3 separate regions of the Homo sapiens genome follow, and all the other regions are linked to region 1. The links are contacts of gene promoters, found by promoter capture Hi-C in human tissues and cell types (Jung and others, 2019). All regions are on one chromosome and are shown on one strand. Each heading gives the region's core, a stretch centred on a gene start or on the middle of the fragment in contact. The rest is flanking DNA. Distances are from core to core; before and after follow the strand shown. Region 1 holds the start of MAP1B (microtubule associated protein 1B). Region 2 overlaps MRPS27 (mitochondrial ribosomal protein S27). Region 3 has its middle 180 kb from the start of CARTPT.

Evidence for each region. Contacts are between HindIII fragments. The study calls those that stand out against the background at their distance.
Region 2: a fragment that was not itself captured here is called in contact with the fragment with the promoter of MAP1B in region 1 in 1 of the 25 tissues and cell types used here (mesenchymal stem cells).
Region 3: a contact is called between a fragment that was not itself captured here and the fragment with the promoter of MAP1B in region 1, in 1 of the 25 tissues and cell types used here (lymphoblastoid cells).

What each region holds. Positions count from the first base shown.
Region 1 is chr5:72,105,731-72,109,857 of GRCh38, forward strand. MAP1B (microtubule associated protein 1B) reads left to right here and starts at 1,745. Exons shown (of 7, transcript NM_005909.5): 1 at 1,745-1,985. The coding sequence starts at 1,802. It overlaps LOC105379028 (a long non-coding RNA gene), which reads right to left. Exons shown (of 3, transcript XR_007058813.1): 1 at 3,045-4,127; 2 at 2,195-2,257. RefSeq lists enhancers at 1,664-2,646, 3,052-3,346. The HindIII fragment of the contact is 7,344 bases long and covers 342-4,127 here.
Region 2 is chr5:72,277,657-72,281,690 of GRCh38, forward strand. All of the region lies in intron 4 of MRPS27 (mitochondrial ribosomal protein S27), which reads right to left. It overlaps LOC107986422 (a long non-coding RNA gene), which reads right to left. Exons shown (of 2, transcript XR_001742742.2): 2 at 3,194-4,034. Among named protein-coding and RNA genes, the nearest start is that of MRPS27, 41 kb to the right of the region's middle. The HindIII fragment of the contact is 3,602 bases long and covers 371-3,972 here.
Region 3 is chr5:71,892,359-71,896,502 of GRCh38, forward strand. No RefSeq gene overlaps it. Among named protein-coding and RNA genes, the nearest start is that of CARTPT, 180 kb to the left of the region's middle. The HindIII fragment of the contact is 4,518 bases long and covers 276-4,144 here.

The DNA of each region.
Region 1 (4,127 bases), core at 495-2,994:
TTACTTCTTGAACAGCAATTGAATATCTTAACCAAAATATTATCTGGAAACACTTCATCTAGTTACTGGTGAATGCAGCTAGTTGGAAACACTTCATCTAATTACTGGTGAATGCAACTCTCTAGTGATCCTGTCACAGATCCCAAATACTGCGGGCCAGACGGTATTTTCATTCTGCATTGATCAGATTGACATGTTGGATGGAACCCCCCAGCCCTTGGCTGCCCAGCATGTCTCCCATGCCAGGGTGTCAGGAAAGATATAAGAGCAAAGAGTACATGACCAATAAGTCATGGCAGCTAACACCTAAGACACTGGGTTATTTTGGAAATCTTAAGAATATCTAGGTGATTATCTATCTATCTATCTATCTATCTATCTATCTATCTATCTATCATCTATATTTTACTAACAGGCATTCTAGTATTAAAGCTATGTTGACTAATTTCCATCTATTCCTCTTCCTTAAAGCTCGAATTCCCCAGTCTTCTATGATACCATGTTTGCACATTTTGCTCTTTCCTCACCCTCCTCCCCTTTTCTGGGACAGAAGCTATATTCAGTATGTTTGTGAGAAACGGTTGTAAATAGGCTGCCTTAAAAAAAAAAACAAAAAAACAAAAACAAAAAACACATTTTTTAGTTCTTCTAAACACAAACAAAGGCAATAAAAATTCCCAATGCTACAGGTATTTTAAAAGACATCATTGTCACGAGGTAATTTTGCTTGTGTGTTCCCCAAGGAACTGAAAAGTACATTATAGTCACTGTAACCCTGCTGAGTAGAGACAGTATCTTCTCTTTATTCTTTGTTATTACTGATACTATCTGTTCAGCACATTAAGGAAAGAAATTGGTATCTAATATAATACATCTGCATTTCTCTCATTTCCCATGAGCACCACAAAGCCAGTACTTTTTCATCCTTGGCCCTGCCAGAGTAGAATCCAAGGCCTGAACAATAGTAGGCTTAAGTTTTGCATTTTTGATGTATTCTTTAAGTGAAGGTGGTAAATATTGATATTGGTAAATATCAGTAAATTCGTCTTCTTAAAGCCACAAGGTCAAAGAAAAGACAGGTTCCGTCTTCCTAGGCGGGGTACCCACAGCCCCGCATCTGCCCACTGTGGCTATCCCAGTTCCTGAGAACCTGGCTACATCATACACAGCACACAAGGCAGAGGCCTGACTAGTGCAACTCCAACAAGAGAAAAGACCCCCACTCCGAAAATGGAAACTCATCCCATTCCCATGCACAGACAGGGTGAGGGTGAGGAGTGGGCAGTGGGTGTGTACGTGGTGGGTGGTGTAGGTTGAGAGCGTCTTCCCCCTTCACGGCTGCAGCAGGAGCTCAGCGGGCGCCCCAGCCCCTTGGCTCGCGGCCCTGCCCCGACCATTGTCCGCACACCTCGTCCCTCCAGCTTCCGGGCCGCGGGCGAGATGATTTGCTGCAGATGACATCAGCCCCGGGCCAACGGCTGGAAGAGCGGAGGCAGCCACCGCGTGAGGATGTGCCGGGTGGTCCTTTCCTCCTCCTCTTCCTCCTCCTCCCGGCTCCCTGCCTAGTCTCCATATAAAAGCGGCGCCGCCTCCCCGCCCTCTCTCACTCCCCGCTCCTCTCCGCCGCGCACTCTCCGCGGCGCTGGGAGAGGGCGGAGGGGGAGGCGGCGCGCGGCGCCAGAGGAGGGGGGACGCAGGGGGCGGAGCGGAGACAGTACCTTCGGAGATAATCCTTTCTCCTGCCGCAGTGGAGAGGAGCGGCCGGAGCGAGACACTTCGCCGAGGCACAGCAGCCGGCAGGATGGCGACCGTGGTGGTGGAAGCCACCGAGCCGGAGCCGTCCGGCAGCATCGCCAACCCGGCGGCGTCCACCTCGCCTAGCCTGTCGCACCGCTTCCTTGACAGCAAGTTCTACTTGCTGGTGGTCGTCGGCGAGATCGTGACCGAGGAGCACCTGCGGCGTGCCATCGGCAACATCGAGCTCGGTAAGTGGCCCCGCGCCCCCAGAGACGCGCGCTGGGAGACGCGCAAACACGACCCCACCCAGGGCGCGACGGTCACTGCGCTCCTCCCGCGCGCCCCGCACCCATGCCTCTCCTCGTCACCTCTCATACTTGGTCCAGACCCTTTCTGGGCTAATTAAGAATAATCCGAATTATTAGATATGAGACCCAGAGGGAGAGTCTCCAATAACCTTGAGGGATCTGTCACCACGCTGAGTCCGCAGCCTGTGCTGAGTTGGCCACCGCCTCTCCCGCTAAGTGAAATGCAGGTGTCAGGGGAGCAGAGGCCACAATAAAGCCGCAACCGCAGGAGGCAGAAGGGTGGGGGAGACCTGATGCAACCACTCCTTTCAGTCCTCTTCTGGCCTCAGGAAAAGGCTGGGACCCCCACCACCGCAGACCTGGGGCCGAAGCCCATGTGCCAGGGCCCGCGTGGGATTCATCCTCACCACGGCTACCTCAGCCCCTGAGAAACGCCTTTTCTGATTTCAAACCTCCCGATCCTTTCTTTCCTCAGAATGACTAGGCTAGTCCTAGGGCCACGCCCGCTCCCCCCGCCCCCCCCTCCCCGGGGAGATGCTGGGATGCAGAACCGCCTGCGCTTCGCCACCAGACAGAGCCCGCCTCGCTACCGCCCTTGGGGCCTTGGCTGCAGCTCTCAGAAAGGACAATGGGACCCCAAGTTGCGGGGTGGGGCTGCTGCTTTTAGAAGTCCCAGCCTCGGGAGTGGTAGCTTGAAGGGGGTCGGTGAGGGAGACGTCAGCGGGTAGGGTCAGCTCCTCGCCCGGTGCTCGCACCAGTGGCGCGCTCTGCGGAGGCCGAATAGCGGTACGCCGGGGACCCTGGGCGGGGCCGTGAGGGTCCGGCGGGCACAGCCTCGGGCGCACAGAGAGACCGCCCCCAGCCCCACCCGAGCTGCCGCAGTGCCTCCGGACCGCCCGCCACACCTGCCCCCCCACACTGCGGCGCCCCCGTCGGGCACGGCTGGCTGGGCTTGCGCTCCGCCCGGGCCTCGGGCTGGCGGGGGCCGCGCGCCCCCACCTCTCAGTTTGCCTGGCTTTGTTGCCCTGGGAGTCCCTGGGTGGGCAGCTCTGGTCTCTGCCTTTCCCTTTATCCCTGGCGTCCCGGCCCTCCCCTCGCTCCTGACAGAGGTCGCCGGGTCCCTCCGCAGCCCCAGCCCGCGCTCTATTCTCCTGGGGTGGTGCTGAAGCGTTTCTCCGGGAGACACCGGTTGGTGGGCGTGGTGCAGTCCGCACTGCGGTCTCTACGGCAGCCCGAGGCGGACAAAGGGCGTTCACGCAGCCCTCGTTCCCCACTCCCCCTCCCCAATAAAAGACGAAAGAAAAACCTTGTTTTAGATGAAAAAATAAATGCTTGTCATCTGCCTCTGCAGTTGGAAACGGCCACTTGTCCCCAGAACAAAAGGCTGCAGGGTGGGGACTGGAGTTGCAGACCTGGTTCTTTTGTTTAACTTTAAAGCACTTGATTTTCCCTTTTAGCTTAAAAAAAAAAAAGAAAAAAAATGTGAGCAGAAAGTCATAGTATTTTATTCCAAAAAATTCAAGAACAAGAGATATTTCAGTAGTGAAATGTCTTATTTGAGCATCTCAATAACCCTTCATTTTCAGACTATATAGGCCTTTGGTCTAATCTGTTCTAATTTAGTTTATTTGCACAATTTTCTCCTGGAAAAATTTTACACATACTGACTTTGGGTGTGGCTATTGTGGGAATCAATGACTTTGGATTTTTTTCTTTAAAAAATTATTTGTAAGTAGCATTTCTGGGAAATAGGAATATATTAGGAGGTGCTTTTCTATCTACAAAATCTTCATAACCATTCGATGTGGTGGTGCTAGGAGAGGGATCATCAACCCCGTTTTAGAGCTGGGGGCCCAGAGAGGCAGGAAGGGTAAGAGAACCGGCTCAAGGTCACAGCACTCATAAGTGACAGAAGTACCAGTACTGCAGCGTCACTCGTTTTCTGACCCTGTCATGATGTTAGTGCAGGGTTGGCTAACATCCTATGATGGGAGGAAGGTTTCAGTACAACAGTTTTCAGGGCTTGCCTTTGTATGGCCATCCACTTGTGGGCAGCGCCCCATGCTGGGAGATGGTTCAGCA
Region 2 (4,034 bases), core at 922-3,421, 170 kb after region 1:
CCATTCACAATAGCAAAAGACATGGATTCAACTAAATGCCCATCAATGATATATTGGATAAAGAAAATGTGGTACAATACGCCATGGAGTACTGTGCAGCCATAAAAAAGGAACGAGATCATGTCCTTTGCAGGGAAAGGGATGGAGCTGGAAGCCATTATCCTCAGCAAACTAACCCAGGAACAGAAAATCAAACACCGCATGCTCTCATAAGTGGGAGCTGAACAATGAGAACACTTGGACACAGGGAGGGGAATAACACATACTGGAGCCTGTGAGATGAGGGGGTGGAGGAGGGAGAGTATCAGAAAAAATAGCTAATGCGTGCTGGGCTTAATACTTAGGTGACAGGTTGATAGCTGCAGCAAACCACTGGGCACATGTTTATTTATGTAACAAATCTGCACATGTATCCTGAAACTTAAATTAAAAAACAAAAACAAAAATAAGCAGAACATAACACCCACATACTCAACCACCTATCTTCATCAAATTTTAAAATCTGGCCAGGCGCAGTGGCTCATGCCTGTAATCCCAGCACTTTGGGAGGCCGAGGCGGGCGGATCACGAGGTCAGGAGATTGAGACCATCCTGGCTAACATGGTGAAACCCTGTCTCTACTAAAGATACAAAAAAATTAGCTGGGCATGGTGGCGAGCGCCTCTAGTCCCAGCTACTTGGGAGGCTGAGGCAGGAGAATGGTGTGAACCCAGGAGGCGGAGATTGCAGTGAGCCGAGATCGCGCCACTGCACTCCAGCCTGGGTGACAGAGCGACTCTCCATCTCAAAAAAAAAAAAAAAAAAAAAATTTAAAGTCTGTCATACTTGAGATTTTCTTTTTAAGCCAATAAAGCATTATAGATACAGTTGATGCTCCCTCATGTATATTTCCGGATCCTACTCCAACCCCATCCTGCTTCTTCATAGGTAGATAATACCTTGAATTTGTTGTTTACCATTTTTGGGCATGTTTTTTATACCCTTCACTTTATAACATGTATCCATGTAAGTGATGATATTGCTTTGCATATTTTCAAACTACATAAATGGTATCATATTATATGTACGATATTTCACCTTTTTTTTACTCATTATGTTTTGAGATAATCACCCTGATATATATGTGTATGTGTGTATAGATATGTATGCATCTATAGATAGCTTTGGCTTATTCTTTCTCACTGTTGTATGGTATTCCATTGTAAAAAAAAGTCTATCACATTTTTCTTCTTTTTCTATTGGAGGATATTTAAGTTGCTTCCAGTTTTTCATATTATGAACAATGTTAAAATGAACAGTCTTATAACTTAATCCTTATACAAGCCAGAGTTCCTTTAAGGTATATACCCCAGAGCAGAAGGCTGAGTAGAAGATGACCATGCCCATCCTCTTTTACTTCATATTGCCAAACTACTCTTCAAGGTGACTATATAATTTTAAACTCCCACTAGTAGTGAATCAGACTTCCTGTTGCTCCTCTTTGTCACAATTATTATGGAAGTCTTATTTTTGCATCTAATAAATGTGAAAATGTATCATTTTAATCTGTAATTTATCTGATTATTGAGAGTGAGCATCTATTCATATGTTAAATATGTTAACTGCCAATATGGTTTTTTATTCTGTGAACTGCTGGTTCATATTCTCTATCCACTTTTCTAAAATTCTTATCTTATTGGCCTATGGATATAATCTAGATACTAATCTTTGTTAGCTACATGCATTGCAAATCTTCCCTGGTCTTTTAATTTTGTTACTGGTGGTAACAAAATTTTTGTAGAATAGAACTTTAAAATTTTAATGCATTAAACCTTATCAGAGCAGGTGCAGTGGCTCACGCCTATAATCCTAGCCATTTAGGAGGCGAAGATGGGAGGATTGCTTGAGGACAGGAGTTTGAGACCAGCCTGAGCAACACAGCGAGACCCTGTCTCTTAAAAAACACACAACAAGCATTAAATAACAACAACAACAAAAACCATTCTGAATCATGGAAGACAACAAAACAAAACAAAACAAAATAAAACAAAAACAAAACCCCAAAAACAATTATCACTTAGTAATAAAACAAAACAAAAAAATTTATCAATCTTTTGTTATGTTTTTTGTGTCTTGTTCAAAAAAAAACAAATCCTTCAGTGTCCCCAGTGTTATACTACTATTAATATTCTCCTATATTTCCTTCTAAAAGTTTTGCTTTTTCCATTTCGGTTTTTAATCTACCTAAAAAAAATGTGTGTGAGTATGTTCATATATTTTGAAGTAAGAATGAAGAATTTTCCCATATAATTGTTAGATTATCGATTGTCTAAGTAGCATTTATTAACTAATCCATTCTTCGCCCTTTGATGTAAAAAATATCTCAGGTTTCCAGATATGTAGATACATTTCTGGGTTCTCTCTATTCTGCTCCACTAGTCTATTTGTCTACATCTAAGCCATTATCTTCATTTGTATTTTTTGTAGCTTTCTAATAAGTCTTGTTGTCTATCTTGTGGACCAATCATTTTATGTTAGTCTTCTTAAAACTGTCTTAGCTATTCTTGGTTTTATTCTTTCACTTGAATTTCAGGGTCATCTTCTCAGGTTCCCCAAAAATTTCTGCTGAGATTTTGGTTGGAATTGCACTGAATTTATAGATGAAATGTGACACTTACTGTTTAATAGTTTAAAACAAATAAAATGGAAAGATATACTTAAAAGACTGGCAAGAAACACACTAAAAACAAGTGATTTTTCCTTTATAAGTATTTTTTTTAAAAAAAGAATATGTAATTACTTTTTCCATAAACAAGAAATGATTTTAAAAATATGAAAAAAATGTATATTTCATTCTAACCTGCAAGGCTGCACAGCAGCCCAGTTTTCTATATAAGAATCAGCTCTACAAATAGAAACTCTTGCACAGCTTCTAAAAAAACCAATAAAATAAAAGTGGGGAATGCTGACAACATTAAACAACTTTAGCCATTCTGAGCTGCTCTTGTGCATGCCAGATATCAAAACTAAAATCTCTGGAAGCAGTTCCACAATTTCTATTTCAATTGCTTACATGCTCCCAGCCCACAGAACAGACCTCTCTTTTTGTGTCTAATCTGTATTTTGATTATTGATTCAATAACATCTTATCAGAGATCAGTTATGGTGCAGTTTTTTCCTAACTGGGAATCATTTTCTTGAGGCTTCTTCTCCCTTCTTCACAGATAGTAAGCAGATCTGTTGCCCCCTTCTGGTTTGTGGCTGTAAGCTTAGCAATACGGGTACACGTATGACAGATTTGATTTGCTGTCTTTTAGGGTCAGGAAGCTTCCCCCAAAATGTGATATCCTTTCTAAATGTGTGTTGAACTACTAGTGTTCCTAAGCATCTACTTCTCCACATTCCTGAGCCTTGATGGCCCTTACACCTTGATGCCCTTGGGGCAGGGGTGGTGCGGATGGTTAGGGAAACCTAAACCAGAAATCAAATACATTTTCCCATAAGAGAGAAGTATGGGAAATAAATACTCCTTGCTTCTCCCGATGTTACAATCTAGTATAGTCAACATTAAAGCTAAATTTTATTGAGCACTGACCTTCTTTGTCCCAAGACTGTTCTAAGGGCATTATAACGTTATCAATTTCTTGGAGTCTCATAAATACCCTAAAGCACAGGCACTATTTTAACACTCATTTTATGAGGGAGGAAATGGATGGCACATTCGACATTCAAATCCAGGCACTCTGGCTCAAGTCCATACTCTTGTCTACTATACTATACTGTGTCTCAGGTAAAGAGAAAGAAAGAAATATTTTTGACAGAAGACAAAACAAAATAAGTAAGCACCCCTGAATAGGTAAAACAAAATTTTATAGATGGGTCAGAGAGATCACATTCAACCGTGAAAATCAGGGTAAGTTTATGAGTGTAGCAGAATTTGGGACAGGCCTTAAAACACAGGCTGTATTCTGTTAGAAAGAGACAGTGGGGAGGGAAGAGCATAGGCAAGATATGAAAGTAGAAGGCACATTCAGAGAACAGTAGTCCATTCCAAC
Region 3 (4,144 bases), core at 1,285-3,784, 210 kb before region 1:
TTCCTGCCTGAATGAAAACAAAAAAATTGTTGTGTGTGTTTTCTCCCTGGAAATGTCATACCTCCTCAATATTTAAAAAAGTCCTAGGACAGCAAAAAGAAAAAAAATCACCAAATTGGTGTGGTTTCAGGGTCATGTTTTTCTTTTTTTCTACCTGGTTTTTAATATACTCTCTGCCTAGTTTCTTTTCTTTTTGGACTTGAGGAAGGCCAGAGCTGCTTTTCCTGGAAGAATGATGCTCCGTGACTGGCAAAACCAGTGAGAGAGACACTTCGGCACATTAAGAAGCCAGAGGCTCATTAGTGTCTATTTACTACCTTGTAGAATGCTCTCGAAGAAGAACCTGAGACTGTCATCTCCTGGAATGGGGCTCCCCAGAGCTTCCTCACTCAGGATGTGCATAATGAATGTAGCAGCCTGGGCAGGGGGAGGGCGTCACATGCTGGGCCTGTGGTCCCAGGGGCAGCCTCATCTTTCCCTGGCTCCTTCAAAAGCAAGGCATTATGGGCAGGGAGGGATGATTTATGATCTCCTCTCTTTGGGCTCAGCGTGGATGCTGTGGGAGGAAGGAGGCTGCTCTGCCCAGGGGCAGGAGCAGAGCACCCACACACCATGCAGAGGATCACTGGACACATCTCACATAGTCAGGGTTGGAGAAGAACTCATGATCACCTGATCAGCCTCTCAAGTCTACAGAGGCAGAAAATGAGGCACAGGGAGAAAATGGGGCTGGATGAAGGCCCACTCTTAGCCCATGCCAGAGCAGAGGAACATCCATTCATGCCTAATCCAATGCACTGTGCTGATTCACCTCTCTCAGTGGTGAATTTTCCCATCTGGAAAACTAGGCTGATATTGTAGATCCTAGCTTACAAAAACATTCTCAACTGGAATGTGAAAGAATACACAATTGGGAGTCAGAAGACATTGGTTTGGGTCCTAACCCTGTGGGATCTTGGGCAAGGCACTTTGCCTATTTGAGTCTCAGTTTACCTTCTGTAACATGAGGTGAATTATCAACAATAATAGCTAATATTCTTGAACCCTCACTGTGGGCCAGGCAATGTGCTAAGTGTTAGGGTTATTTCAATTATTCTTCTTAATAACCTTAAGAGGGAGGTACTATTATTCCTATTTTAAAGATGAGGAAACTGAGGTTGAGTTTAATTAGCTTGAGTAAGGTCTCAAAGCTAGGTGATAGTATTTATCGCACAAGGTTTATGTAAGAGTTGCATAAGCTGCTTATGAATGTGTTTTTCGATTATGAAATACACATGCAAACAATTTTCCATGTAAAAGTATTTTGAATTTTTTTGAGAAAAAGTCCTGAATGCCAAGTCATCACTGTTTGATCTTATTTGCCAAATGTTCTTTGAATTGCTGCTGAGTGTGAAGAACCATGTCAAGTGCTGGAGAGGAGGGCATGCTGCAACCCCCACTCTCATGGAGGTTACAGGTCAGCAGCTAACGCAGCCATCCAGGTAAAAATGACAAGTGGGATGTGAACCCAGGAGTGGGAATGGATGGTGGGTAAGGGAATGAGCTTTGTCTGGAACAGTGGTTTCTAACCCTGGCCAATCCCAGAGATTCTGATTTACCAGGGAAGGGAAGGAGCCCAGACATCATTGTTTTTTAAAGCCCTCTGGGATTGGAATGGGCCACCACAATTCAGACCTGCTGATCCAGATGATGAAGACATCTCCCTGAGGAAGTAACATTTAAGCTAGGGGCTGCTGGAGTTTGAAGATGGTTCATTCTAACTGCAGCTGACAGCTTTGCCAGGTAGATGTTTCTCTCTTCTGACAGGGAGGGCTGGAGACCACAGTCAGGAGGGACCCCCAGGTGAGCTGCACTTCCTGAGAGAAACTCAGCCAGACGGCAAGGCTGCCCACCCCACCCTCCACATTCACTGCCCCACATCGGTGGAGAGAAGTGGTTTCCTCTGGAGCTGATAGCTCCACCTGTCGCCTCTGTGCAGCCAGCTGCTACTGAGTAGGGGCTGGGTGAGGAGTAGATCCAGGATTCTTGGAGGTGTGACTTTGAAGACTGGTTTCTCCCTTCACCCATCAGGCTGCCAATGGGGGCTGCTCCCCAGACAGGCTGCATCCATGGTGCCCCTTCATGTCACACAGCCAGGCCTGGGAGATGCAACGTCAAAAAACACATTCAGAGACAGTGCATACAATTCTTACAAAGACTCTATCAGCTAGCAGTGAGACCTCGGGCCAGTTGATTAAACTCTGAGCCTCAGTTTCTTCACCTATAAAATGAGGATAATAGTGGTAGTGTTTTATGAAAACAACCATAAAGTTGTTTTTATGAAAGAGTAGCCAGGACAGAGGAAGCCCCTTTGATGCTGGCACATGGGGTGAAGGCTCATGCCCCCCTCAAGTCAGCTCTGCCAGGTCAGCTGTATCATGCATTCAGTAAATGAAGTCACACCTAGGCCAGGTGAAAGGATGTACCCTTAGCACGTTAGCCAAGAGGCCTTGCTAGTTCTGAGCCCCCAAATGAGGAACACCAGTGTTGGTTGGAGGCAGTCCTGCTCTAGGGAGGGGGCTGCTCTTGGAGCAGAAATGGAGACGGACTGCTTGCCCCAGTGTCAAACAAGAAGATGGAGTTGAACATGACCACCCATTCTCCCCACATTTACCAAGCAGAGAAGCTTCCATCTCCACACGTGCAGTGGAAGTACAAGGTGAAGAGAATCTAGAATCTCCCCTACTGAGGAGGTTTCCTCTATCCAGACACACAGCACGAGTGGGGAAGAAGCATTGCAACCTCTACCCCCACCCTGCCACCATCTTGCACATGAAACCCTGGAGTTTTAGAACTGAAGGTACTTTAAAGATCATCTAGACCAACCCACTCATTTACAGAAGAGGAAATAGACTCAGAGAGGGAGAATGACTTGATGAAGGGGAAGAGCTGAGACTCAAACAGGGTCTCCTGGCTCCTGGACCTGTGTCTGTTTCATGTCTGGGGTGGAGCTGGCAGGGCTTTTTCCAGGTCATGCTCTAGCGGCATGAACATCTCCAGCCAGGCCCATCCCTATCAGCATTGCATGTAGGGATGGCACTCAGCCTTGCCAGTCCTTTCTTTAGTTAAATGTTTCATGGATGAATGAGATGAGATATATCTGGGTGACATCTCTTCTGTTTAATTGTAATATTATAACTGTTTATCAATATATAACCTTTAATATGCATCTATCAAACAAATGTCTATTCTTTAACATGTACTTGTCCTTGTGTTTCATGCATAATGAAACCAAATGGAAGAAACAGCCCTACATTATCACCTTCTTCCTGGATCTGCTGTCTTCCCATCTCGATTCTGCCTTTACAACTTGGCCTTTGCCTTTAACAACACATCTAGGACAATGCCACTCCCAAATTGGCTCAGCTCACAGCAGTGCTACTACCTGCCTTATTCTGGCCATGTGGGAGTGTTTCTAATCATAACATGGCAGAACTGGAATGGCTCTTACAGATTATCTGGTCCAGTGGATTTCAAGATCCTCATTTCCTTAGTGAAACTCTCTTATAAAACACAATCTTATGTGAAATTCTAAAGGTGGAGCTCTTGGGAGGCAGCAGGGGGTCCAGGGCCAGAGGCTGTCCCACTTGGCTTTCCTTTTGCCCTGTTCTTTTCCATCTTCTAGCCCTCTAAGATAAGGTGCCCATGTTGCAGATGAGCAAAGTGAGTTCCAGAAAATGAAGTCACATGGTTGGTGAGCCTAGATTCTAGAGTCTGATAACAAGTTGCTTATAAAAAAATAAGTCGTGCTTTTCAGTTTTCATTTGTGAAAATTCTGATATTTTTGGCATTAAATAAATGAGTAAAACTGAGCCTTTAATTATAGAGTTAGTCTTTTAATTAGTTTGTCAAACATTTGTTAAGCACATGATCTTTCCAGTTGCATTAAAAATTCATGATTTGAATGTAGATACAATAAAAATTGGCCTTTGGTGCTAATGAAAATCAGAGAGTGCCTATAATTAAGATTAAATTCCATTGTAAGTATGAACCCTCCCAAGTAATTGTGGCTTAAACAAAATGGTACTACATGTCTGTGATGGTTAATACTGAGTGTCAACTTGATTGGATTGAAGGATACAAAGTATTAATCCTGGGTGTGTCT